Linked DNA regions of Homo sapiens: regions 1, 3, 4, 5, 6 and 7 are each linked to region 2. Evidence: promoter capture Hi-C in 16 types of primary human blood cells and fetal thymus (Javierre and others, 2016). All regions are on one chromosome and are shown on one strand. The core of a region is centred on a gene start or on the middle of the fragment in contact, and the rest is flanking DNA. Distances in the headings are between cores, read along the strand shown. Region 1 overlaps TMEM72-AS1 (TMEM72 antisense RNA 1). Region 2 holds the start of LINC02881 (long intergenic non-protein coding RNA 2881). Region 3 has its middle 59 kb from the start of ZNF32. Region 4 overlaps ZNF32-AS3 (ZNF32 antisense RNA 3). Region 5 has its middle 54 kb from the start of LINC02658. Region 6 has its middle 39 kb from the start of ZNF32. Region 7 holds the start of ZNF32 (zinc finger protein 32).

The links. The method cuts DNA at HindIII sites, captures the fragments that hold promoters and counts their contacts. A CHiCAGO score of 5 or more calls a contact.
Region 1: a contact is called between a fragment that was not itself captured here and the fragment with the promoter of LINC02881 in region 2, in 1 of 17 cell types (endothelial precursors). The highest score is 7.7, in endothelial precursors.
Region 3: a contact is called between a fragment that was not itself captured here and the fragment with the promoter of LINC02881 in region 2, in 12 of 17 cell types (M0 macrophages, M1 macrophages, monocytes and 9 more). The highest score is 12.5, in M0 macrophages.
Region 4: a fragment that was not itself captured here is called in contact with the fragment with the promoter of LINC02881 in region 2 in 10 of 17 cell types (erythroblasts, megakaryocytes, endothelial precursors and 7 more); the score reaches 9.9 in erythroblasts.
Region 5: a fragment that was not itself captured here is called in contact with the fragment with the promoter of LINC02881 in region 2 in 11 of 17 cell types (M2 macrophages, total CD4 T cells, M0 macrophages and 8 more); the score reaches 10.3 in M2 macrophages.
Region 6: a contact is called between a fragment that was not itself captured here and the fragment with the promoter of LINC02881 in region 2, in 13 of 17 cell types (M0 macrophages, M2 macrophages, M1 macrophages and 10 more). The highest score is 13.6, in M0 macrophages.
Region 7: a contact is called between the fragment with the promoter of ZNF32 here and the fragment with the promoter of LINC02881 in region 2, in 3 of 17 cell types (endothelial precursors, megakaryocytes and M0 macrophages). The highest score is 7.5, in endothelial precursors.

What each region holds. Positions count from the first base shown.
Region 1 is chr10:44,872,914-44,876,608 of GRCh38, forward strand. All of the region lies in intron 2 of TMEM72-AS1 (TMEM72 antisense RNA 1), which reads right to left. Among named protein-coding and RNA genes, the nearest start is that of TMEM72, 37 kb to the right of the region's middle. The HindIII fragment of the contact is 1,689 bases long and covers 1,173-2,861 here.
Region 2 is chr10:44,290,340-44,294,111 of GRCh38, forward strand. It overlaps LINC02881 (long intergenic non-protein coding RNA 2881), which reads left to right and starts at 2,411. Exons shown (of 3, transcript NR_164139.1): 1 at 2,411-2,594; 2 at 2,962-3,150; 3 at 3,574-3,772. LOC124902544 (a long non-coding RNA gene) reads right to left here. Exons shown (of 3, transcript XR_007062369.1): 3 at 3,575-3,772. The HindIII fragment of the contact is 4,267 bases long and covers 1-3,772 here.
Region 3 is chr10:43,705,969-43,709,977 of GRCh38, forward strand. No RefSeq gene overlaps it. Among named protein-coding and RNA genes, the nearest start is that of ZNF32, 59 kb to the left of the region's middle. The HindIII fragment of the contact is 5,182 bases long and covers 1-4,009 here.
Region 4 is chr10:43,665,667-43,669,333 of GRCh38, forward strand. The region is part of intron 1 of ZNF32-AS3 (ZNF32 antisense RNA 3); the gene reads left to right. Among named protein-coding and RNA genes, the nearest start is that of ZNF32, 19 kb to the left of the region's middle. RefSeq lists a silencer at 1,652-1,831. The HindIII fragment of the contact is 8,678 bases long and covers 1-3,667 here.
Region 5 is chr10:43,723,212-43,726,831 of GRCh38, forward strand. No RefSeq gene overlaps it. Among named protein-coding and RNA genes, the nearest start is that of LINC02658, 54 kb to the right of the region's middle. The HindIII fragment of the contact is 1,927 bases long and covers 1,204-3,130 here.
Region 6 is chr10:43,685,763-43,689,723 of GRCh38, forward strand. No RefSeq gene overlaps it. Among named protein-coding and RNA genes, the nearest start is that of ZNF32, 39 kb to the left of the region's middle. The HindIII fragment of the contact is 9,619 bases long and covers 1-3,961 here.
Region 7 is chr10:43,646,895-43,650,695 of GRCh38, forward strand. ZNF32 (zinc finger protein 32) reads right to left here and starts at 1,987. Exons shown (of 3, transcript NM_006973.3): 1 at 1,908-1,987. All of the region lies in intron 1 of ZNF32-AS3 (ZNF32 antisense RNA 3), which reads left to right. It overlaps ZNF32-AS2 (ZNF32 antisense RNA 2), which reads left to right. Exons shown (of 3, transcript NR_047558.1): 2 at 218-315; 3 at 675-1,125. RefSeq lists a silencer at 1,493-2,012. The HindIII fragment of the contact is 4,172 bases long and covers 1,152-3,801 here.

The DNA.
Region 1 (3,695 bases), core at 767-3,266, 580 kb after region 2:
AGCTGGCAGGAGTTGATGTTGCAGTCTTGAGTTCCAGGACAGTCTGGAGGCAGAATTCCTTCCTCCCCATGGGACCTCGGTCATTTCTCTTAATGCCTTCAGCTGATTAGATGAGGCCTACCCAAATGATGAAGGGTAATCTGCTTCTCTCAAAGTCTACTGATTTAAATGTTTAAAAAATACCTTCACAGCAACTTCTAGACTAGTGTTTGACCAATCAACTGGGCAGCATATCCTAGCCACATTGACACATAAAATTTACCATCACACTATCAAGATCAGGAAGACAATATTCCGTAACAGTGGGTCTCAGACTTCAGCATGAATAGGAAGCCCCTGACGGGCTTGTTAAAGCATGGATTGCTGGGTCCCAGCCCCAGAGCTTCTGATCCAGTAGAGCAGGGCTGTCCCTGTGAGAGTTTCCTGAGATGCCGATGGTGCTGGCCCAAGGCCACACTTTGAAAACGCCCCTGAATGGCGTCATTGCTACATTGCTGAAGTGATTACGCTGAAGCATCATGAACAATCATCATACAATATGTTTCTAATCTACAGTTTCTATATAATAAAAACAATTTGAAAATTTTCTGAATGTCTAAGTTTTCAACAAGAAAAACTTTACTTTTAACCCAGGAAAATATCCACCCAGTCCTTAGCTTCTCATAAGATTATAATAAAAAATTGTCTCAGAATATTATAATAAAAAGTTGTAATCACATACCTTCAATCAATATTCCAAAGTAACAGAGACATGTCACTCACAGAATTAGGAGTTGGGCCACTTGGGTTGGACAAGGTCAGGTCACAATTCTCAATTTGTACAGCTGATCAGAGCCAGATCTCCTGATTCCTGGTGCGTCTCTCCCTCAGGCCTCGGTTTCCACGTCCATAAAATGGGATAGTTTGCTTGTGCTCCCTCCAGACCTGATAATTCTTCTACCCAGGGTTCACATATCTTGACTCAGTTTGAAGCAGAACATTCAGACAGGTAGTACTGTCAGAGAGGAAATGGTCTGCCCTGTAAGGCAGGACTGTGGGTGCGAGAATCTGCGCTGGAGGGCACCAGGTGGAAATTTCATAGGGAAGATTCAGATTGCAGATTGGACACTTCATTCCTCTCACACTGTGAACTTCTACAGGTCCCTGAATTACAGACCCCATTCCTGGGACAAAGCTTAAAAGAAAGAAACAAACTTTAAAGAAATATAGGAAGGTGCCTTTGTTACTATAATGATTATGGATATCTGTTGTAAAAATAATACTTATTGAGCCCATACATCTCACTTGCAGAAATCCAAAGCTATGTTATTAAAGCTGTTTCAGGGTTTCAGAAGATAAATAAATTGAAGGTCTCTAAACCTTCAGCAAAACTGTTCCAACTTGGATTAATCTGGAACTGAATGTCACATTGAATCCTGCCAAGGCTTGGCAGGGCCCCAGGTAGGAATGATTTACATTCCATCCAGAAAAGCGGCTTTGGGTCCTGGAGGAACCAGTGGTTTCAATGCAGCCCTGACCAGGATAGCTGGATGGGAGTGTTCCCCTGGGTGGGCTCAGGTGGCACAAGGGAGATGAGGGTCACCCAGTTAGAGTGCCAAAGCACTGCTCATCTCTCAGTCACTATGACTGGTAGAAATGCCACCAGTTTGTGCAATGAAACAAGTCTACATTTATTCCCTGTGAAGCTGTGATTCCTGGTGTAGCACGCACAATCCAAAGGTCAGAGTTGAGACTCAGTTCTTGCTCTGGGAGTTTGTGGACATGACCTTCAACTCGAAGCCAGAAGAACTGAGTTTAAGACCAGACTGTGCCCCCTTAAGAGCTCTGTGATCTGGGCAAGTCAAATCGCCCCTCTGACTCTTCAGTTCCTCATCAGTAAGTGAGGCTAAATTCCCATGCCTGGTGGACTCCACAGGGGACCCCTCACCAAGAGTTATTAAGGTGCAGCTTCCCCCACTGTTAATACCTACAGTTCATGCAAATCAAAGAAGACTTTAGACCCAACTTGAGTGGCTTTTATAGAGTATGTCACAAAGGCAACAATATGGCATAAAGTACTCAGCACCTTTCCCCACCTGTCAGTGGAAGCCTGGTCCTGAATTGTTTGTGGTGTTGAAGGATGCCAAGGAGGCTCACCCTGTGCTAAGGTGTCACTTCAGGGCACCAGGAGAGCTATAAGAAGAGGTAGATGGGAAGTGGTCATGAAAGAGGGCCTGCCAGAGCTTTTAGGGGAGGCCAGAAGAGGGACTGTGGCCCATGAAAGGGTGAGGAGAAGGCCATGCTGACAAGGACAGTGGCGCACATGTGTGAGGATTTTTGGAAATCTTCTGCTGTGTGTCGCACCCCTGATATGCCAGCCCTCCAAAGACTTAATTAAAGTCTTATGTTATCTTTTTTTTTTCTTTTTTTTTTTGAGACAGAGTCTCACTCTGTCACCCAGGCTGGAATGCAGTGGTGCGATCTCGGCTCACTGCAAGTTCCGCCTCCCAAGTTCACGCCATTCTCCTGCCTCAGCCTCCTGAGTAGCTGGGACTACAGGTTCCTGCCACCATGCCCGGCTAATTTTTTTTTTTTTTTTTTTGTATTTTTAGTAGAGACAGAGTTTCATCATGTTAGCCAGGATGGTCTCGATCTCCTGACCTCGTTATCCTCCTGCCTCTGCCTCCCAAAGTGCTGGGATTACAGGCGTGAGCCACTGCGCTCGGCCAATCTTATGTTATCTTAAAACACTTTTGGAGTAGAAATTACATTTCTCTTCATGCATCACAGTGCTAAGACTAGAGCTTAAGGCTGAGGCTGACAGGCCTAGATAACTTTGGGTTGCATATACTTAAATTAAGAGTCAGCACATTTTAGGATGAAGCTTCAGGTAATGATCATGAAAACAATTCCTAGCATCTCTACAGACTCCATCATTTTCGAAATGCTTTCTCACATTAATGCAATTCCATTCTATGTGTTAAGCAAAGCATAGGCTTTGCTCCCCTACAGAGCTTGGCATTTAATGCAGAGGCTACTTTTCCTAAGCAGAATAACCAAAAGAATTCCATGTCCAACTACAGCAGGATAAGGAAAGCTGTGAGGTATTTTATTAATTAGAAAATGCTGGATCCTCCTGTCTAGCTGAGGTAAGGATGAACTTTGACCTCAGAGCCTGCATATGGTAGTGTTTATGCAGAGATGTAGTCCCATATAGACAAATAAATATGGTTGTCTTTATACATATATGTGTATACACACACACACACACACACACACACACACACACATCTCACTTAGCTAGACACAGCCCCATCTTGAGGGCAGAGAGTGGTCTTGTCTTTCCAGTTCACCTCTTCCTTCCAGTATCCAGAGGTGACCAGTAAGTGTTGGTGGTGGAGAGAATGGTGCTAAGGAGAATGGGCTCATCTGTGTTACTAGACTGTTAGCGGGAAACAGAAGCCATCTGATGACAGGTCACCTATCTTTGTGACTGGGTGAATGAGTTGGGGTGGGGGCAGCTTTCGAGCTTTCATACAGCTCTAAAGACAAGGCTGGTCCACCTCTAGTCTGAGCTCCATACCAGGCTCTTGCCAGCACCTTCCTCCCCACTCGCCAGTGAATGAGGTTCTTCTCATTACTCTCCCTTCTCATACGCATGTATTTCTGACGCGTCTATACAACAGCTCTGGGCCTTGATCCACCCATATCAGCCC
Region 2 (3,772 bases), core at 1,161-3,660:
AAAAAAAGATCTTTATTAGGTCTTTTGATTATTTAGATAACTGAGTCTTCTCTCTCAAAGAGTAAAGGTTGTTTGAAATTTTTGAATTATTGCTTTGGTTAAATGAATGACTATTATTTACAGTGAACTGTGATCCTAATTTGATCAAGTGTTTTAAACCTTTAATATTTGATATACTACCCAAAGTCAAATTTCAGTTTCTAAAATTAAATCTTTTCCAAAAGTAACCTCTAGAAATCTAAGAAAGATATATTTAGCTTATTTGGTATGTTAAAATCATATGGGAAGCATTGTCAAATCTCAAATAAATAATGGAGTTTAATTTTTTAGTCATATTTTTCTGAATATGTTATTATTTTGATATATCATGATATATGTTGTCAAGCATAATTATGATTTATCCTTGGTAAAAACGGGGAAACGGGAGAGAAAAATTGCATTTCAGAAGACAAGTACAGTATGCCTGTTATCAGATTCTAGTCTTGCCCATTGTTTTTGAGTTTTTATTATTTTCCTACAATTTGGACTAAATCCTGAATTCTTTCTTGGCTGCAAGTCTTCAAACTAATGCTTTTGAACTTTTCTCTCATTTTTCTCACTTGGAATCACTAGAATTTAAAACTGCTTTTCTTGAAGCCCTGCAAACTAAAGTTAGACAACTTGATATAAACTTCAGGAGGAGTCAGCACAGCAACTCACATGTACACAGCCTTTGTGCCTGCTGATGTATGGGCTACTCAGGAAGTTCACATGAACACGTAATTCAAACTATAATCCAGGAAAATCTGTAAGATTACCACTACAATCTGAAGATACTTCTGAGACTCTAGAAAAACTAGTTTATTATGGACTATTCCAGACATTAAGAAAAACCTTTGTTTTTCTTTGTTTCCATAGAAATGCCTCTTATTAAAGACCAGCTTGCCTGCATCAGCTGTAGAAGCCCAGCCCCTCTGTAGTGCCACCTCCTAGAATGGACACAGCTGTTTGACCAAATGCTTCTACTCTTAGGACTAAGAGACTGATTCAAGAAGATATGGGACAACATATTTATTTATTTTTCTTTTCTGCTTATCCCAATTTGTTTTTTCCCCTTCTTTGCCTTCTTTTCCTCTAACCCAAATCTCTCCATAATCACTGATTCAGCTGTTGATAATGTGAAATTCTAGGGAAGTTCCAAACAGGAGGATTGAAGGAGCGCAGGGAACTTGGCCCCAAAATATGGCTCCCTGGTATGAGTATTTTCAATTAAAGTCCCTCAAGATCAACAGAAGCTGGAAGAGTCCTCTCCCTTATCTACATGAAGACCCTGCAGACCCACCAAAGAGAACAATTACTTTTCCTTCTCCTCCCTCTTATCTCATTATCTATTGCAGAAAAGAAAACCAACACGTGACCACACCTGAACAGACGCTTTCAAAAAAATAATCCATTTCTCCAGCTTATTAAATTTTCAAAGAGAACCATTTACGAATAACTCTCTGTTTCTTGACCCATTCATTCTCCTTAATAATAATTTATTGCCCCTCAACAGAATCACCTACATTCCGCCTTCCACCCTCCTCTCTGAAAAAACGCTGTATAAGTATCTGGACCTCATGGGATATTGGGTAATCACCTTATTTTTCCCGTGTACACGTTAATAAATTTGTATGCATTTCTCTTATTAATCTGCATTGTACACTTAAAAAGTATTAAAAGAGTGAAATTTATGTTATGAATATTTTATCACAATAAAACAATATTTTAAAAAACTGACAAAAATTCTTTTTAATTTCTTTCAAGTGAGGAATTACCAACTACTTAACAGGGTGCTTAGAATGGGGGATTTTACCAGATAAGTGGCATGCTTTTTACAATTAACAATTGCTGTTATTTACTGAGTATCCACTTTCTCTGCCAGCTCCTGCGTTAAGCACTTTACATATACTAATTCAAATCCTTAAAAAAGAAAATAAAGAAGAGAAAAGGAAAGAAAAATAAGAACATGTAAGGCTATAAGGTGCCTCATCTTTGCCAAATTCTACAGACTGGCCAGGAGACTGCAGGCCACTGCAGCTTCCTAAGGCCACTCAGGACAAGGCCAGTCCGCAATTTGTTTCACTGTGAGACGGCTGCGCGGTCAGAGCCCAGACACGGTCATCAGACTCCCGGACTTGGATTCAGCTCCACATGGTGTCACCCTGGGTAAAGGATGTACATCTCTGCGTGCCTGGGTTTGTATGGATGGCAGCATGGATGCTCAGGCAACTGACCCGTCAGGACTGCAGCAAATGAACAGAAGCTGGGGGAGAGCGCGGGCTGGTGCTGTACGGAGCTCTGGCGCAGAAGGCGCTCACCAGGGGTGCCCAGAGCCGGGGTCTGTGCGCCGCGGGTTGGATCCGGGTCACAGGCTCTGGGTGGACAGAGTGAGAAGACAAAATGAGGATGTACTCCTCAGATGCTCACGAAAGGCCTCCTTCCCCTTCTTTGGGAACGACCCCCCCCCACCCCCTCCCCCCAACAGGCAGTCCCAGGCCGCGCCAGGACTCGGCCGCAGGCAACTCGGAGGAGCGGGAGCCCAGGGGCCTCAGGAGGGCCTCGGGAGTGGGGAGGTGAAGGGGGCGTCGGGAGGGCCGCGGGTGGGAGGCGGGATAGGGAGGCGGGGAGACTCGGAGCGGGGTTGGGGAGGCGAAGAATGGAGGTGGGGAGGTGGGGAGGGGGGCTTCGGGAGGGCCGCGGGTGGGAGGGGGATGGGGAAGCGAGAAGGGGGGGCGGGGAGGGGGGCCTCGGGAGGACCGCGGGTGGGAGGTGGGTGGGGAGGGGGGCCTGGGGAAGGATGGAGCCCGCTGAAGGCAGGCGATGACGCAGGCCCAGTGTACTTCTCCTGGGGGCTCCTTTCTAGGCCCACGGAAGCTCCGTGTTGGTTTCTTTGTACCCATATCACACTCACTGTATTTCTTCTTTCCTTTCCTCTCCCAGCAGCTGTAAGCGCCCTACAGTTTGCATGGGAAGGCAACAGGGACTTCCCTTTTGCACTGTCTGCGGGTACCGCTGTTCCAGCCCTGAGAGGACGAGGGGACGCTGCGCTGTGGGGAAAGTCCGGGTGGCAGGAGGTGGCGGGGCTCCTGGAGGAGGTGCTGGGATGCGCTGCTGTGGCTGCAGAGAAAGGTCCCGAGGACGCAACCCGTCCCTTCCCCCGAACTGCGAAGGAGCCCCGCGGGGAGGACGGGCAGGGTCTCCCGGAGGGAGGAACAGGGGAGCCTGGAGTCTCAGGGTTGCGGGGAGCAGAGGCGTTCTGGGTGGTGAACGTCCCCAGCCTGCCCTCCCTGCTCACTGCGAGGTCGCGCACCGGCTCTGCTCCAGGCCTTCCCTCAGCCCTGGCCTCCAGGCAGTTTCCATTTTTGCCAGGTGGATTCTGTACGGCTTCATTTATTCAGAATCTGGATCAACAAATGAACACTCAGAGAGGAAAAGGGTGTTTGGAGGGGTGGAGAGGTTTCCAAGCAGGTGCCCACCTGAGGGCCCCCTGAAAGGGGACTTAAAGCCGAGTTTCCAGCTGGGCCACCCTTTTTTTTTCTTTCTTTCTTTCAGAAATATAAACAAAGAGCTTGAATTATTTTGAAATAACTGTTGGTAGCTGGACTGTGTTCTCTTGACCGCAACATTGCTCTGGGACTGAATCGCGTGGGTCTCTGCTCTTCCTAAGTGTTACATAAGAATAGCGAACCCATGAGGTCAGCTTCTAAACCAGTTTCTTCCCATAACCTCCTGGACCAAGTCCCAAGCAAGG
Region 3 (4,009 bases), core at 841-3,340, 580 kb before region 2:
TGTTGGCCAAGCTGGTCTCAGACTCCTGGCCTCAAGTGATCCACCCTCCTCGGCCTCCCAAATTGCTGGGATTACAGGCATGAGCCACCGCGCCTGGCTGAAAACAAAGAAATCAGTGAGATGATTTCAGACAACAGTAAAGTTACAAAAAAAAAATAGCACAAGGTGCTGATAGGGAGGATGGAGAGAGCGGAGGCTGCTCACAGTGGTCAGGGGATGCCCAGGAGGTGACAGCAGTCGCAGTGTGAGGCTGCCACTCACCCTCAGGGAGGGGTTTCCAGGCAGCAGGGGTGAGGGCAAAGGCCCTGATTGAAAGGAAGCTGATGTGGGGCCAGAAGGCATATATGTGGGCAGAGAGGCAGGCAAAGGCTGACCAGAGAGCCCTGGCCACCATGGTGGGCACATGGATTTTGTCCTTAGGGCCACAGGACACCGTTGAAGGGTACGAGTGGAAAAGTGACCCTCTGAGGCTGCGTGTGGGGCAGGCTGTAAGGGCTGGCACGTGCCGGGGCCCAGGGCAGGGGGCTGTGGGCTGATGTGGGCTGTGCTCATGGCCTGAGGGAGGAATTCAGGAAGATTCTGAGCCTTTTGGCCTGAACAACATGTTCTGAGATTGGCGAGTGGGAGATAAAGAGGTTTGGGAGGAGTGAGGGGAATTAGCTGTGGGATTTGAGGAGGGCCCAGGCCTGAGCCCTGTGTTGATCCAGTATTCAGAGAAGGGAGAGGAGTGGGGCCCAGCGAAGTAGGCGGGGAAGGGGCCAGCAGTTTGTAAGGAGAGATGGGGATGACATAGAATATATATATATATATATGTATTTTTTTTTTCTTTGAAATGAGACCTATCGCCCAGGCTGGAGTGCAGTGGCGTGATCTTGGCTCACTGCAGCCTCCACCTCCCGGATTCAAACGATTCTCCTGCCTCAGCCTCCCAAGTAGCTGGGATTACAGGCATCTGCCACCACGCCCAGGTAATTTTTCTATTTTTAGTAAAGGCAGGGTTTCACCATGTTGGCCAGGCTGCTCTTGAACCCCCAACCTCAGATGATCCGCCCGCCTCGGCCTCCCAAAGTGCTGGGATTATAAGCATGAGCCACTGCGCCCAGCCCAGAATATTTGTTTTTCAGTTAGAAATGTATTTGGCTTCTAGTAATGGAGACCAAACATAACAATGATTAGAATCAGATAGACATGTTCTGGCCTCTATTAGTGAAAAGTGGGTTGTGTGCTTAGGGACAACAGAGTTGCCCCACAGATATGAGGGACACTGACACCACCTATCTTTATGTTTTTGTCAGCTTTAGAACACAACTTCTGTCCTCAAGGTCAACTCAGAGTCTGTGGTGGCTGCTGGACCTCCAGCCATCACATCTGTATTCTCACACCTAGAAAGTGGGAGGACAGAAAAGCATGACGGCCTCCTGCCATTTAGTGGTCTCCCATTTAACCTGCTTTCCTGGTTAAGAAATTGTGAATTCCAGTCACAATTTTCATTATATTGCCTTTTCAGATTCTTGCTATCCTCGTCTGTAAAAATAGGGAACTCTTCGCTCATTCGCGATTCATTATTCATGCATGCATTCATGTGTATTCAGCAGTAGGCTTGGGGTTGAGCCTACCACTAAATGCACCTGGGTAAGGTGATCAGCATGGCCTGGGATAAAAAGTGATTATCCCTATCTGTGAAATGATGAACACTGGCCGAATGACAGGCCGGGTGTAAAGTGCTCGGTCTTTGTTACTCCACTTCATGTTCTCAACAGCTCTATAGGCTGCTGTGGTCTTATTTGCTGCATGAAGACAGCGGGCCTGCAGTAGGTGTGCCTCGTAGTGATCACCGCACTGTGTGGGGACTGGCGGTGTGGACCATGGTGTCTGCTGCACCTGTACAGCTGGGTCACAGTAAGCCTCCCGCAGGCACTGCTCTGGGCCCAGCAGACTTGCTGACGACGGGGACAGCTCCGTGCAGGAAGCCTCAGAACAATGCATCGCTGCAGCCCAGAGGTCTGGGCACGCCCACGGAGATTTCCCCTGTGTGTTCTGGAATGTTTAGTGTGGTTGACCTTGCCAGTGATTTATGAAGTATCTTAAAAATAGTTTTTACCTAGAAATAAAATATGCCCCTGATTCTTATGCTTACAATGACCATTGTACTTGTGATGACTTCAGCTACAGTTGTTTGAGATCAGTATTATATTCACCCAGAATACTTAATCAAATAGTTTCCCTAACAAGCACTTGGTTTCTGAGCAGAATTTCCTCTAGTGGTACAAGGAAACCATTCATGTCTTACCCTTAAGAGGTGATGGATAAAATTATCCTGATTATGAAGAAATTATTTGTCCAGTGAATAAAGTCTGCTGACCCTATTGTATAGACATTCACATTTTTCTGAGTCTGACCTCACTCAGTTATGGCCACAGTGGGTGGTGGCCCTACCTGTGCCGGGACACCTCTCTCCCCCCATGTGGTCACTGTCCCTGGTGTGAGAAGTGTCCCCCCCAGGTCGGGCCTCGTCTGGCTCTGGCCTGGACCTTACTCCTCCTAACTGCACTCATCCACTTAGAGAGGGCACTTTGATTTATGGTGTTTACATTTGTGTTTCTCATTAGCCAGCATTTCCTTTGTGCAGTCTGTGTCCCAAATATCCTTAATTTTTGGGTTATCAGCAGGCAGAAGGGCAGCAGCCTGTAATGCCCCTTGTGGGGCCTGAGGAGTCCCTTCCCGCCTGGCAGAGGGACACACTGAGGGCTGCACCACTGAGTCATTCCCATGCTCTCTCCACAGAATCAGTCCAGAGACTGGGAAAGAAAACTGGCTAACCTCTCCAAGGGCCACTTTTTTAAAAAAGTAGATTTTATTATTTTTAAAGAGCATTTTCAGGTTCGCAACATAATTGAGTGGAGAGTATTTTCAGCAATATTTTGCTGACATACATTATCTCATGTGATTCTCATTACAGTCTTGTGAATTAAGCATGGGAGGTATTGTCATCTTATTTGAAAAAATTAAGAAAGTGATGTTCCAGGCACTAAGTAAGTTCAAGGATATGGGACTAGCCTGGTAAGTACAAGGATGTGGGACTAGCCTGGTAAGTACAAGGATGTGGGACTAGCCTGGTAAGTACTAGTATGTGGGACTAGCCCAGTAAGTACACGGATGTGGGACTAGCCCGGTAAGTACTAGGATGTGGGACTAGCCCGGTAAGTGTTAGGATGTGGGACTAGCCCGGTAAGTACTAGGATGTGGGTCTAGCCTGGTAAGTACTAGGATGTGGGACTAGCCCGGTAAGTACTAGGATGTGGGTCTAGCCTGGTAAGTACTAGGATGTGGGACTAGCCCGGTAAGTACTAGGATGTGGGTCTAGCCTGGTAAGTACTAGGATGTGGGACTAGCCTGGTAAATGCTAGGATGTGGGACTAGCCCGGTAAGTACTAGGATGTGGGTCTAGCCTGGTAAGTACTAGGATGTGGGACTAGCCCGGTAAGTATAAGGATGTGGGACTAGCCTGGTAAGTATAAGGATGTGGGACTAGCCTGGTAAGTATAAGGATATGTGACTAGCCCGGTAAGTACTAGGATGTGGGTCTAGCCTGGTAAGTACTAGGATGTGGGACTAGCCTGGTAAATGCTAGGATGTGGGACTAGCCCGGTAAGTACTAGGATGTGGGTCTAGCCTGGTAAGTACTAGGATGTGGGACTAGCCCGGTAAGTATAAGGATGTGGGACTAGACTGGTAAGTATAAGGATATGTGACTAGCCCGGTAAGTACTAGGATGTGGGTCTAGCCTGGTAAGTACTAGGATGTGGGACTAGCCCGGTAAGTATAAGGATGTGGGACTAGCCCGGTAAGTATAAGGATATGTGACTAGCCCGGTAAGTACTAGGATATGGGACTACGCCGGTAAGTACAAGGATGTGGGACTAGCCCAGTAAGTACAAGGATATGGGACTAGCCTAGTAAGTACTAGGATGTGGGACTAGCCTGGTAAATGCTAGGATATGTGACTAGC
Region 4 (3,667 bases), core at 65-2,564, 630 kb before region 2:
ATAGTGTTTATGCAAAAATAATTTAGAAAACCATAAAAATCCCTGAAGAAAGTCTGAGAAAGAGGTGCAAGGAGAGAGGGAGAATTTCCAGCTTCATCAAAACTGTGTGCAGATGGAGCCTCTGCAGGTTTGTCATCCCAGCAGTGATGTGGACAACACGAACACAGCAGAGGCAGCCACTGGTCTTTAACGGCACCACCAGCCCATCCCGAAGTCCATCAGAGGCACCTGTGAATCCACAGGTTCAGCGGACACTTATTTCCTGGGTGCCTATGCCATGGAGGCCCTCTTCCTAGTGCTCTGTGGATGCTGGTGTGGGCCCCTCTCTACAGCTCTAGGAAGCAGGGGTCTTAGTCTGTTTTCTGTTGCTTATAACAGAATACCTGAAACTGGGTAATTTATAAAGAAAAGAAATGTATTTCTCACAGTTCTGGGGGCTGGGAAGTCCAAGGTTGAGTGGGTGCATCTGGTGAGCATTTTTTTTTGCTGGTGGGGACTCTGCAGAGCCCAGAGGTGGTTCAGGGCATCATATGGCAGGGGGCTGAGCGTGCCATCTCAAGTCTCTTTTCCCTTTTTATAAGCCAACAGTCCTACTGCATAACACATTAATCCATCAACCCCTTCATCAATCCATTAATCCAGGAATGGACTAACCTATTCAAGAGGGCAGAACCTTCATCACCCAGTCACCTCTTAAAGGCCCCACCTCTCAATACTGCCATATTGAGGATTAGGTTTCAACATGAGTTTTGAAGGGAGGAGTATTCAAATCACAGCAGCAGGGACCATTACTACCCTCCTGAGAGAAGGGGACCTCATGGGGGCCATAGTCAAGGGCTCACCTCCTGCTGCCAAGCTGGGAGGCTGCATCACCAGCCCAAGTGGCCCGGGCCCCGGGGTTCACGCTTCTGATTCTGGACTCCCTGTCCCCTAACCATCCCCCATCCCATCCCTCCTTCACTCCCTGGGCTCTACTTTCACGAATCCGCTGTCCCCTCCTCAGGCCACAGCTCTTTCCTCAGCAGACATCATCCTGCCTGTTACAGAGGAAGTGGGCACTGCCGGGCAGAGCCCCAGCTCTTCTGCACCACGTTCAAGAAGGCAGGCACCACACAGGCAACCTCACGCCTCCTTCGGAAGCAGATGGAGTTTTTTTTTTTTTTTTGCACAAGGTTACTCTAACCTGTTTGTCTTCTTGGGGTAACTTGTTCATTCATATATGAATTGTCACCCATTCTATCAAACAAATAAAATCACCATGACAATTGCTATTTTTAGGCACATTTTAAAGCTATAAATGAGATCATGTTAGTTAATAAAAATTATCTCCTCAGTTAAATGGGTATTAATTACAATTTCCAAAATTACAGCAAACTCTGAACCCTCCTTTTAGACTGGCTGGTACCATCTGTTCTAGCTAGGTATTATACTTTACTTAGCCATTCCCCTGCTGTTGGACATTTAGGACGTTTCTAATTTGAAATTTAACATTGGGTGGTTTTCCAAGTATTTATGTATATATGTATTGGTGCTGATTATGACGACGTCAAATTTCTCTCCGTCTCTGCCTGCCGGCTTCAGCTGCGGCCCCTCCTCTCGGAAGGTTCCTCAGGAGTTCTCCTGTCCAGTTAGAGGTTTTGGGGTTTCCTCCTTACGCTGGTCTCAGCGACTTCCTGCGGCTCAGAAGCAGCACAGGCTGGACCCAACCCCTGCCTCGGAAAACCACTGTGCTGATGCGCCAGCAGAGGGCCGAGAGGACAGCCGCGGCGGAACCCAGGGGCGACAGTTCCCTGGGGCCAAGGGGAGCCATGTGGAGCCCGGCCCAGGCTTGGCGCCCAGGCTCGGCCGGGCTGCTGTGCGCGCGGGGAGTCCGGGTGTCCACTGGCCCGAGCCAGGGTCCCGCACTTAGCGATTTCCAAGCGCGACTTAGACGTGGCCTAGTGGGTGTTTTTCGCTGATGGAAACGCTGGCCGGGACTGCCCCCAGCCTCCGCGGAGAGTGGGAAGCTCCCAGCAGGGGCGCGGCGGGTGCGCTCCGGGGCCCTCCCCACTGCGGGGCTTCATCATACGAAAAACCTTTGGAAGGGCCTGGAGAGCTTTGGCCTTTGTTTCGTGGGCTGTTTACTGACTTTCGCTCCCAGTTAAATCTTCCAACCCGAAGACATCCTTCTGAAGTCAGCAGCACAGATTACACCTAAGGGGAGGCGACTCGGCCTTCTTCCCTTCCCTTCCCTTCCCCTCCTACGGCAGGTCCCGCTGGCGGGAGGACGCCCCGCGAGTGGGGTGGGCCGCGAGCGGGAGGAACACGCACGTCCCGGGGCGGCCGGAGGGGCCCCGCTTGCGCAGGGGGTTGTCAGAAGACTCGCACGCGGCAGGAGGCCTGGCCGTGGGTGCAGAGTTCCCAGTAGGACGCCCACGAAAAAAACCTAACTCCCATTATGTTCTGTAATTCTAGTCTAGCCCCTATTTCATGCTTGATAGAGAGCAGTCGACCCCTTCTTGGTGAATTCTGCCAAGTTAGTCACTTCTCAGTCATGTTAATTAATTGTTTTAGAGACAAGGTTCTGCTCTGTCGACCAGGCTGGAGTGCAGTGGAGCGATCACGGCTCACTGCAGCCTCCGCACCTCCGACTCCAGCGATCAGATTCGCCTGGGTTGTCCAGCTTTCAAGTCCACCGGGGTCCCCATGGAACTTCTGGCTGCCCTCCCTCCTCAGCCTTTCAGGGAAGATGGGGCTGCTGTGGGTGCCAAATGTGCCCAAACCACCTGCACCCCTGAGGCGGGTGACACAGCCTCTCCAAGAGCCTTGGTATTGTGCCATCCAGGCTGTCCTTCAACCTCAGCCCTAGACCAAGGCCTCAGACTTCGGGAAGGAGGCCACTGCACATCCACCCTCAAGCCCACTGCACTCAGCCCAAGGAGCTGAGGGGAGTGAGCAGGGCCTGGGGCCTGGGCCTGTATCAGGCTTCCTCTCCCAACTCTTCCTGCCCCTACCCGGCCTGGAGGGCACAGACACACATAGACACACACAGATATGCAGAGACACACACACACAGACACGCAGACACGGACACGCATGGATGCACACAGAGACACACAGACACACACACAGACCCAGACACACATACGTGGATGTACACAGAGAGACACAGACACACATGGACACACATACACAATTCTAGATATAGAGAAGCCGTGCCTGTAGCTTGCAGTGCCATGTGTCTGCACGCACTGCGGGTGAGGACTACACCAGCTCCGGGGTCGCTCTACTTCATTGCCTTTCCAATCTTTGGTCTCACAGCTGGATGGCACTCTCTAGATGAGAAGCTAGGGTTGTATCTTTATTTTCTGGTTCCACAGTGACCTCCCCTTTCCCCAGAGCATCCCCGAGTCAGGGTTTCAATGAGGAGGGGATGGTCCTTGGGCCAGAAGGAGCCATCAGAGGGCAGGGGCAGGCCAGTGTGGGTGGTCCTGGCTGCACTTGGGTCTGTGTGGCTCTGGGCATGGTCGGAGCACATCTCCAAGGCCACATCTTGAGCAGAGGGGGCTTCTCCTGAGGGGAATGGGCCTTTATTGTCACCATCCTGGGAAGTGGAGACTCTTAGGGAAGGGCATGGACTCGGGAGGGCCTGGGATGTCTGGGCAAACCCGTAAAGACAGCCCCTTAT
Region 5 (3,620 bases), core at 917-3,416, 570 kb before region 2:
GGTTTTCCTTCAATTTTGTTGAAAGCAAAGAATTGGAAACCAAGCGGCATGACAGTGAGTCTTGAGAGCTGTTTGTGCCTCTAAGGTACTCACGTGCCTACTCTCAAAAGAGGGAAAATGTCTCTCTCCTCTTTGCTTAGCCTCCAAATTTACAAAGAGGCCTATAGAGTTTACTGTGGAAATGACTGTTATGACAGAAAGATAGAAGAGCTTTTTTGCTTGAACCAGGGAAATATTCTCCAAATCTAATGTCCAAAATGGATGATTCTTATAGCACACATGGCCACCAGCTGAGGTTGTCCAATCCAGTGGGTACGATGGTTTCAGGAAATTGGGAGAACAAAATCACTGTCGAGCTTTTAGGAGTTTAGAGGGAGTTAGCAGAATATTGTAAACTTGTATATTTTGCAAGGTGCTCCAAAAAGGCTGAGATGTTGTTGATCTTTTGATTAATTTCAAGCTCCAAAATGTACCTGCGGTGTCTCTAGCATCCTTTACAATGCCTGAGTGAGAGGGCTTAAGTCACAAGCTCTATCCACTAGACAAGTGTATGCAATATTCTTGTTTGTAGCACCAGGATTTTGAGTAAAATAGCCTTCTTCTTGGATGTCCTCACATTTGTTACCAGAATGCAAGACGAGAAGCTAAGAAGGAACTGGGTTGGACCCAGCAGAACTGAAATGATTTGCAGCCTCTACTCCTCTGATGACACTTTAATGTGACCTTGCATTCTTTGGCTTTCAGGCTTTTTCTCCTCCAACCCCAACTCTTGGGAAATTAACCTCTCTGAAGGCAAAGATACACATCTCATAAAGTTCTTTGGCACCCCAGCCATGTGGCTATAGATGAGGAGACTTTCAGTACCATGAGATCCAATGTCAATAATTTCATCCACTCATTCTTGCTGCACCTGCTTTGCTAAGCAATGTCCTGGGTGGTTTGAAGCCCAGAAAACTGAATCACACATGGAGTGAGACTCTGAGGAGCTAAAAGAAGTTGGTTTTATACATCATAAACCCAAGTGAAGAACCAAAGAAATGAACAATGTAGAAGGAGGCAATTGACAAAGATGAAAGTTAGAATTAATGACATTAAAATAGTAGCAGTAATAAATAAAACCAAAAACAGTTTTTACGGAAGACAAATTAAATATACAAAAGCTGATTCTTTCAAAAGACCAATTAAATTTACAAATACCCAACAAGCTTGATTAAGGAAAAGGAGAGAAAGCAAAACTAACTACAGATATAACAGAGATATTAAAAATTATAAGTAGTATAACATGTAACTCAATGACATCAAATATGAACAGAAATTATATAAGAAATAGATGATTTTCTAGGAAAAATGTAAACCACTGCTATGGTCTGAATGTTTGTGTCCCCTCCCAAATTCATACATTGAAGTCCTAACCCCAAGGTGATGGTATTTGAAGGTGAGCTCTTTAGGGGATGACTAGGTCATGGGAGTGGAGCTCTCATGAATGGGGTTAGTGCCCTTACAGAAGAGGCCCAAGAGAGACGCCTTACCCCATTCATCATGTGAGGACACAGCAAAAAAGTGCTGTCTACAAACCAGAAGGCAGGCTTTCACCAGACACCAAATCTGCTGCTTCCTTGATCTTGGACTTCCCAGCCTCCAGAGCTGTGAGAAACAAATTCCTGTTGTTTATAAGCTACCCACTTAATGAGATTTTGACAAAGCAGTCTGAATAGACTAAGATAATCACCAAAATTAACCTAAGAAGGAGGAGAATACTAAACAGATCTGTCACAAGTGACAGAAGAGGTGAGAAAAGTACTTAGATAGCTTTAATTAAAAACAATTCGGGCCAGGTGCGGTGGCTCACACCTGTGATCCCAGCACTTTGGGAGGCTGAGGCAGGCAGATCACGAGGTCAGGAGATCAAGACCATCCTGGCTAACATGGTGAAACCCTGTCTCTATTAAAAATACAAAAAAATTTAGCTGGGCGTGGTGGTGGGTGCCTGTAGTCCGAGCTACTCGGGAGGCTGAGGCAGGAGAATGGCATGAATCCGGGAGGCAGAGCCTGCAGTGAGCCAAGATCACTCCACTGCACTCCATCCTGGGCAACTGAGCAAGACTCTGTCTCAAAAAAAGAACCAAATTCAAATAGATTTTGAGAGGAGCTAATTATAGTATGTCATTTCTGTTTTAAGCTGTTTTAGATCATAGAAAAAGTTACAAAGTTCCACAATTTGTTTTATAAGGCTACTGCAACCATAATTCCAAACCTATAACAAGACCATTTTCACTTACAACTATAGATAAAAATTCTAAATAATTAACTATACTTATCTAGCAGCATATTTATAGACTGATACAAAGTAATCTGATAGAATATTAAAAATGGAATAATTACCACCTGGAGAGGAGGAAGAAGATACTGAAAAAGTACTCCAAGAAATAATGGTTGAAAACTTCCAAAATTTGGTGAAGTCCAGAAACCTACAAAACTCCAGAAGTTGAGTGAACCCCAAACAGGATAAACCCAAAGAGATCCACACCAAGGCACACCCCAGTCAAACTTCTGAAAACTAAAGACAGAAAAGTCTTGAAAGCAACAAGAGAGAAAAACACCTCCTTACCCACAGGGAAAAACAGTTCAAATGACAATAGATTAATCAAGATCAAACCTCCAACACTAGAAAGAAGTGGCATAACAAGTGCTGAAAAAGAGAACTGTCAACCCAGAATCTTATATTCAGTGAAAATATCCTTCACGAATGAAGGGAAAATCAAAACATTAAAGATGAAGGAAAGCTAAGATAATTTGTTGCCAGCAGACCTACCCTAAAAGATTGGCTATAGGAAGTTCTCTAAACAGGAAATGATAAGAAAAATCTGAGAACATCAGGAAGAAAGCAAGAACAGGATGAACAAAAATATGGTTAAGCCCAATAGTCTTTTCTTCTCCTAAGTTTTCTAGTTTGTTTGACAACTAAAACAAAAATTATAACTCTAATATAGTTCTACCAGCATGTGAAGAGGATGTCAGTGGGGATGGTGGAGCAAGGATCTCAAACCCCTCTCCTCCTCTTTATAAAACTAGCAATAATACTGCTAAGAATTGTGAAAATTAACTTTTTCAGAACTCTGGAAACTAACAAAGCTTGTCACAATCTGGAAAGCACTTACTCAAGAAAAACACTAAGTTGTGGTAAGAATAGCAAGCTTTGTAACATTTTAACGAGCCCTATTTCTGTCTTCCCTGTACAGCTTGGCAGTAGCCTTGGAAGCCAACAGCCCACAGCAGAGGTAAAAGACAGCAGCCCAGCAGCCAGTGGAGGGGCCAGAATGGGGCTGCAGCTTCTCCAAAGACCCATTCCCAGAGAACTGCCATTGTTTGACCTGCTAGTCATTCCCCACTCATAAGAGTTGTCTTTATTTGGTCTGACTCAGAGCTTGCCCAGTGCAAATAACCTTTTCCTCAGTGACATTTGTCAAAAACAATCAGTGGTGATGGTTTAGCATCACTGCTGCCTGAGGTGATGATAATAGTTGGGGCAAATGACAAGCTGACCATAAAAACCCAAAGGGAAAAGCTAGAGACTGAGATGTCCAAAGGAGGCTTTGAAAAACTCTGACACATCCTAGGAA
Region 6 (3,961 bases), core at 1,022-3,521, 600 kb before region 2:
TTATAAGGTCAATGAGAGCTTGGCTTTGCAGAATCTGTTGCCTTTCTAGCCTTGGCATGTGAACAATTTCTTGTTATGCAAGGTCTTGATAGGAATAGCAGGGCGACTGTGGCTGTGGCTGGTTGGGCTTTCATGTGAGAGCCCCGGGCCAGCTCCCCAGGTGACTCCTGACTGCATACACGCTCATGTGCTCACAGACACTCCCAAAGGCCCAGCACGGCAGGTCTCAGATGTGCTCGCCCTCTGTTTTTCTCGCTCCCCACTGGTGAGTGAGCTGTGGTCTCAGGGACGCCCCTTAGCAGCTGCTTGACCACGGGCAGGTCTTCACTTCTCTGCAGTTCAGTTCCCTCCTCTCAAAACTGGCAAAACAATAGTAACTACTTGATTGGGGTGATATGAGCTAACTAAATGAGTTAATTTCTATAAAGTCCTGACAACAATATTGGCATACAGCAAATGTCAGGATGATTTTAGCTCTTCTTGTTATAATTACAGATCTGACTGAATAAATCTAAAGTCCAGAGGCTGGAGGAACAGGTGGGTCAGGAAGCAGTTATGGGAGAATAAAGGAAAAGATTTCCGGAACTCTTTCAGAGCACACACAGAACAGCAGGCCACAGCTTTTCCCGGGGCTCAGCTTGGCCCCCTGTTAGCCGAGGCGGGTGCACCCCGAGGACCCCATGTGGTTGATCACCTACTTCCCTTCTGAGAGGGCCTTGTTCTGCTGGTCAGCCTCTTAGCTGAACACCCTGAAGGAAAGGTGTAAGGTATAAGGCTCACTCATCTCTCAGTGGGGAGGCCTTTCCTTCAACTCAAATAATTACATGTGGATGCCTCTAGGGGAGCCTCAACATCCGGTTGATAGAATCCCACCAGCTCCATGGCAGTTAATCAAATTCACAAATGTGGATGGGCCACAGAAGACGTCCAGGTGGGTCAGCAAGCCAGCAGTGCTTAGAACCACAAAATACCCTGACCCAAATAGTTACTATAGAAGGCAGAAACACGTTTACACAATTTCAGCCTGCATCTCAGAGGGCATTAAGGGGCCAGAACTTTGATTAAACACAAGTGTAGGCAATTATGAAAAAGCAGCAGTGGGAGAACAAGGGAGTGTTCTTAGAAATAGAAATGGTCCACAGTGGCCCAAATTAAAGCAAAACCCACTAGAGGCGGTGAGTCCCAAAATGGACTCTAAAATCTGAGGCAGGAAAGACTCCACCTGGAGAAATCCTTACGGAGCAGAGCAAGAGTAAAATGTGATGGAAATGGCAGGAAAGAGCGGAGAGAAGGCAGATATAGGATTCCCTCATGCATTTAGTGAGCAAAGATCCACTAGATCCTCCTCAATGGTCTTAGCAAGGGGCATCTAGCAGTGAAGAAAATCAGCTGGGCACGGTGGTGGCACGTGCCTGTCATCCCAGCTACTGGCGAAGCTGAGGTGGGAGGACTGCTTGAACCTGGGAGGTTGAAGCTGCTGCAGGCTATGATCACACCTGTGAAAAGCCACTGCACTTCAGTCTGGGCAACAGAGTGGGGCCCTGTCTCTTAAAAAAAAACCCCTGCTTGCTTGAAGCACATGTTTAGTGAGGGATGAAAGACAATAAGCAAGTCAGGACACATCGAATGAGAGAAAGCGGTCAGGGCTTTGGAAACCTAGAGTGAGGAAGAGGAAAAGAAGGGGTGGGGACGAGGGAGAGAGCTGCAGTCTTAAATAAGGTGGCCAGAAGGAGCCTGCTGTGCAGGGAGCTCTGAGCAGAGAGCTGAAGGCATCAGGGAGCAAGCGGGGAGACGTGGGGGCTGCATTCCAAGCAGGGGGTTGGTGCTGTGGAGACCCGGAGATGGTGGTGGCATTGCGGGGAGGGCTTGAGCTGGGGAGTTTGGGGGGCCACTGTGGGTGGAGAAGGGGAAGTGCTCAGCAGAGGAGGCCCATTTGGGACATCTTAGGACTCTGGGATGGAAAGCCATTGAGGGATTTTCAACAAAGAAGTGACATGACTTTCACTTAATGCTTTAACAAGACCATTCTGGCTGCTGTGTTGTGACTAGATTCCTGGAGGGGTCGGTAAGGGCAGAAGTAGGAAGAAGAGGGAGGACGCGACATGATTCTGGGAGTGACGGTGGTGGCGTGTCCTGGGCTGAGCGTGAGGGAGGTGACGAGAAGTGGCTGCTCTCTGGGTTTTCCTTGTAGGCAAGTCCAGCAGGATTTGCTGACAGTGGGTTTGGATGGAGGAGAAGCAGGGTAGTTGAAGACAAATGAGATTTGGATCTAAGCAACCGAAAGAAAGGCAAAGAAGTTCCCAGCGGACTGCTTTTGTTTGTTTGTTTGTTTTGTTTTTGAGAAGGAGTCTTGCTTTGTCGCCCAGGCTGGAGTGCAGTGGCACAATCTCGGCTCACTGCAACCTCCGCCTACTGGGTTCAAGCGATTCTCCTGCCTCATCCTCCCGAGTAGATGGGATTACAGGCACGCGCCACTAAGCCTAGCTAATTTTTGTATTTTTAGTAGAAATGGGGTTTCACCATGTTGGCGAGGATGGTCTCTATCTCTTGACCTTGTGATCTGCCTGCCTCGGCCTCCCAATGTGCTGGGATTACAGGCGTGAGCCCCCCCCGCACCCAGCCTGCGGACTATTTTTTTATGGGGGGGGGGGGGGAATCAGGAGTTTGCCCTTTGTGTTTTCAATTTAAGATTCGGCATTTGGGAGGAGCTGTCTGGTGGACTACAGGAAAGGCGAGTGTGGAGCTGGTGTGAGAAGCTGGCTGGGAGAGGGCTGTTCCTTGGTGACTCACGGGCGGAAAGGTGGCCTTTAAACAGTGAGGGTGGGTGAAGTCATCGGGGCAGGAGCGTGCCTCCAGAGGGCCAGGGACTGTGCCTGAAGCTGGGCTCTCCTGGGCTACAGGGGCTGCGAGGGAGGCTTGAGGGGCTGGGGAGCGAGGGGCAGGCTGAGACCCTCCTGTGGGAAAGCATTGCAAGCTGGGAATGTTTAGCGGTGGCCAGTACCTCAGAGTGCAGCAGGGCGAGGCGGAAAAGAGACTGACCATGTCTGAGTGGTTTTGGTGGAGTGCTGGGTAAAGGTGAATGTGTCAGGGTGTGAAGGAGAAATAGGAGCTGTGCGGAAACGGGTGCTGGGAAAGGGGGAGGTTGCTGGGGAAAGAGGTGTGGGGTCCTGAGGGGGCCTTTGAAAGGTAACGTGGAGAATTCCTACTGGATTTGGCCTTCACTGGAATACCCTAGAGGAGGGGGAAGTTGGAGGTGAGGGCGTGGCCGGTGGCTGAGTAGATGGCCTGGGGGGGCCTGGCCCAGAGAGCTCTTGGGAAGGTCTTAGGGCAGGACCAGGGGCCGCGGGGGCAGCAGATGGCACACGGGGGCGGGGTGTCGGAGGCGGCCTGTGCAGATCCCCTGACCCCCTGCCTTCTCAGGGCTACAGAAACAAGGCCGTCATACTTAGAGGTGCTGGGCGGCTGAGGAGTGGAGCGGGTGGGAGGTGCGGGGCTGCAGGGGGATTAGCTCCCAGCAGCCGTGGGTCCCCCTGAGGATGCCGGGGTCATAATGCACAAAGCCACCCTCTCCAAACACCTCCAGCTGCCCAGGCGAGGCGGCGCGCAGGCGGAGAGCAGGAGGGACGCGAGGGTGAGGGGCTGAGCCGGGGGCCAGGGCGTCTTCAAGGCAGCGCTTTAAGGAAAGGGCCATGGAGTTCCAGCTGGGGCAGGACAGGAGGAGCCGGGGACGGAGGTGAGATTAGTGGCCTGAAGCTCCCAGTGAGGCCAGGACTATGGGAGAGAGGGTACGGAGGGCATCAGGGTGCGGGGGGTGGTTAGGGGGTGAGGGCGTGCGACACAGCGTCAGAAAGCGGACGGAAGCTGGGGGTGAGCAGGACTCGGGTGCCGTGAGTGTCTTGGTGACCACTGTGAGCCGGCGAGGTCCACTGGGCCAGACCCTGGCCCGAGGTGGCCCCGGAGC
Region 7 (3,801 bases), core at 737-3,236, 640 kb before region 2:
ACTTTCTGGATCCAAAATGTATGCTCTTACATTAGACAGTTGTCTAGTTCCTAATCACTAAAGAGCTGGTCAGAATGCTTATAAAATTGAACAGAAAGGAAGAGAGTTTGACCAGATTGAAGTGCTCTTTCAGATCCTAGGAATCCTCTTGTATGTGCTCTAAATTATTTTTTAATTTTTTTAAAATTCTGAGTCAAGATTTTGCTCTGTTGCCCAGGCTGGAGTACAGTGACTCAATTACAGCTTGCTGTGACTTTGAACTCCTGGACTCAACGGATCCTCCCACTTCAGCCTCCCAAATAACTAGGACTACAGGTAAGCACCACCAAGCCTGGCTAATTTTTAAAAATTATTTTAACTTTTTTTTGTAGAGATCGGGTCTCATTATCCTGCCCAGGCTGGTCTCCAACTCTTGGCCTGAAGTGACCCTCCTGCCTCGGCCTCCCAAGACATGTAGGCATGAGCTACTACACCTGGCCCACATGATCTATTTTTTAAAAAAAATATTTCTTCTTACTTCAGGATCCTAATTACTGAATTCTTATACTTTTAAGAAATGCAGTGGTTCAATGCATACTCCTTGTTTCCCTCTAATTTGTCCTATCAAAATGCTGGCCTTCTGATTTAATGAAATAATAGTATGATGCTACCATTCTTTGTTTTGTCAACCTAAGCACCTGGTTCTTCTTGACAACTGCACATTCTGCTACATGCTGTGATGACCAGGAGAATCATTTAAATTTTTATTTGGAGGACTCACTTCCAACTTGGAACACAAGCTGCAAAGGAATTCCCTACCAGCATGCCAGCACATCATTTGGAAGTTCAAGGTATTCTTGCTCAACAGCTGCACACACATTAAAAGTCCCTGGGGTACATGGCGCCTGCTGCCTGGGGTTGGACTCTGTCGCCGGGGATTCCAGAAATTAGAGTAGAATTCACAGCTCTGCCTCTCCACCTGCTGTGAGGTCTTCAAGTTACAACTCCGCCGCCTATCAGGGACCTCCGTGATTAGTAAGGGAGAAATTGTCATATTTTTCTCCCTAGATCACAGGTCTGAGGAAGCAGTTTCCCCAAGATTTTGTAAAAGTGGCTTTATAATTAAAAACATTGATTTTCCTATTAGAAAGGCTACTATATCCTTTGGAAAAAGCTTAGAAGTAGTCCGTGAGTCTTGGCTTCTTGCCGTGGCTCCCCCAGGATATGATCTTGGGCGAGTAACCCAGCAGCCCTGACTCTGCTTCCCCACTTATTAAACAGGTTACTAACACTGTCCTATCAGGTAGGACAATGAGAAGGAAAGAACCAAACAAGAGGAGTATCAGACGAGACCACCAGACTTAAGATCTAAAATCCGGCGTCCTCTGGAGGGCGGATGAGAAGAGGGGTACACTTGGCGGTCTGGAAAATGTCCTGGGGCCAGTTTCAGGTTTAGGAGCTTGTGGGTAGCGTGGTTTCCCACACGCTGCCTGGCTTCCTACTCTCCCCCGCAGGGGCTGCCTCTCCTCCCACCCCGGAAGGCCGGCACCGGCTTCCCGCACTCGCTGAAGCCCGCACGGAGGCCGGGTGAGCCTGCCGCGGCCTCCCCCTCCCACGCCCCGACGCCATGGGCCCTGCTCCTCTCCGCAGACGCTGCCCTCCCGCCTCAGGCCCCGGGCCCCGGGCACCGGGCCCGCCCTGCGTCCTGAACCTCGGCATCCCGCTCTCCGGTCCACGGGACCCTGCTCTGCGGACCGCCGACCTCTCCGCTCGCGGCTGGCCTCCCTCGGGGCCCGGGCCGGCCAGGCCTGCTCATTTCCTTGGCGGCCGCTGGCATAAGGCGGCCACACGGAGGGCCCGGGACAGCGGTCTGATGGCGCAGCCCCGCCTTGCCCCGGCGCTCTGACCCGGCCAGCGGCCTCACTCACCGCAGCGGCGCGTGCCCGCAGACAAAGGCCGGCGCCGAGCCCGCAGCAGCGCCAGCGCCGGCGCCGGCGGAATGGACTACAACTCCCAGGAGTCTCCCCGCGAGCCCGCCCGCCGGGCCGTGGGTCTCGGCGGCCCCGGCTTCCCAAGAGCTCTGTGGGAAATGTAGTTCTCTGGCGCGCCCTGCGCTCGGGCCCCGCAGGTCCCTAGGGCGCGGGGACCTCAAGCCGTCCCGTTTGGACTGGTAATCCGGAGACTCACAGCGGTGACCTGTCAGCGGACGCGGAGCCGGGACGGAGCCACGGCCGCTCAGATTAGCAGGATCTGATTGACAGCATCGGGGTAGCAGACGCTGAGCCAGGGACTCAGGAATACAGGGTTCTTGCAGGGCGTCGCGGAAGGAAACGAAGTTTTTGGGAGAAATCCGTTTGATAAAGCCTTGGCGGCTTCGAGGTCATGTGTTGAGCCTCTGGCTGCATGAACAAAAGCGAAGCCCGCTTTCATGGAGCTTCTGTGAAGAGCAACAGGAACACAGGCAGTCCAGTCGTCCTGAGATACTGGGAGGAGCATGGTTGCTTTTGAACACGTAGGAGATAAAGCCTCTCTAATAATGCCTGTTTTTTTTTTTCCTTCACTCTGTCTCCCAGGCTTGAGTGCAGTGGCACGGTGTCGCCTCACTGCAACCTCCGCCTTCTGGGCTCAAGTGATTCTCCTGCCCCAGCCTCCCAAGTAGCTGGGACTACAGGTCTGTGCCACCATGCCTGGCTAATTTTTTTGTATTTTTAGTAGAGATGAAGGTTTTACCATGTTGGCCAGGCTGTCTGATATGCCTTAAGCCTCTTTTAAACGCACTTTTCCAGGATCGGGGCCACATCCTGGAGCTGTTCTGCCTGGCCGGGTGTATCTCTGGGTCCCTGCCTCTGGAGCCCCTCTCCGTAGATGTGTCTGTCCATCCTCTTTCGTGAAGGACTAATAAAGAATGCTTCCTCTTGCTATGTTCTTGTTCTCTACCCCAAAGCCACAGATTTGTTAAATCAAACAACTTAATTTCACTCAATATGCAAAGGTGTCTGTAAGTAATAAGTTGATTCCTAAATGTTAGCTTTTACTATTGCACATCATTTCTGAATTTCATTCAACATTTATCCGTTGAATCCATTTTAAGTGCTGACACTGGGGATACGAATGTGAGCAAGACACACTCCGTGCTCCTAGGGAGGAGCTGACAGTCTGGTGGAGCAAACAAACACCACCTTCCTCACATGGGGGTCGGGGTGTTGCACAGCTAAGTCCCAGAGTGTGTGGTGCAAACTGTCCTGAAGCTCCCCATTCCTGAACTGCCCCAGGTGGCTCCTCTCCTCACTCCTCCCAAGTCTGAGAAAGGGGTGGAGGGCGGCACACAGCAAAGGCCAAGGCTCAGAGTCCTAAGGCTGCGGCCTCTGCTTCACACAAGGGTACATAGGTTCTGTTAAGGTCAAGACCGGCTGTGGACACTAGGACAAGTTTCAGATCCTGCCGTGAAGGTACATGACAAAGCATTGGTGGGAAAAGGTGGCTGTGAGGGGGGACCATCGTCACTTTTATAGATCTGCATAAATTCCCTTAAGGCGTCTCAGGAAAGTGGACACATTGAAGGGCCCAAAGCAGGGGAGAAAGCTGTTAGGATTGGGGTTGATGTGACCCCAGCCTCCATAGACAGACTGCCCAGCTGCAAAATGGGGCACATCCTCACCCACCACCTGCATCTTAAGGCAAATACTCAACAAAAGGGAGGGTGTGGGGTGAGGGTGAAAGGGAAATCATCCGCAGTGTAGATTTGAAAAATTACCAAAGAACAATTTCCTCACTTTGCAGGCATTTCAAAATATTAGGGGAAGGACAGATAATTCAATAAAT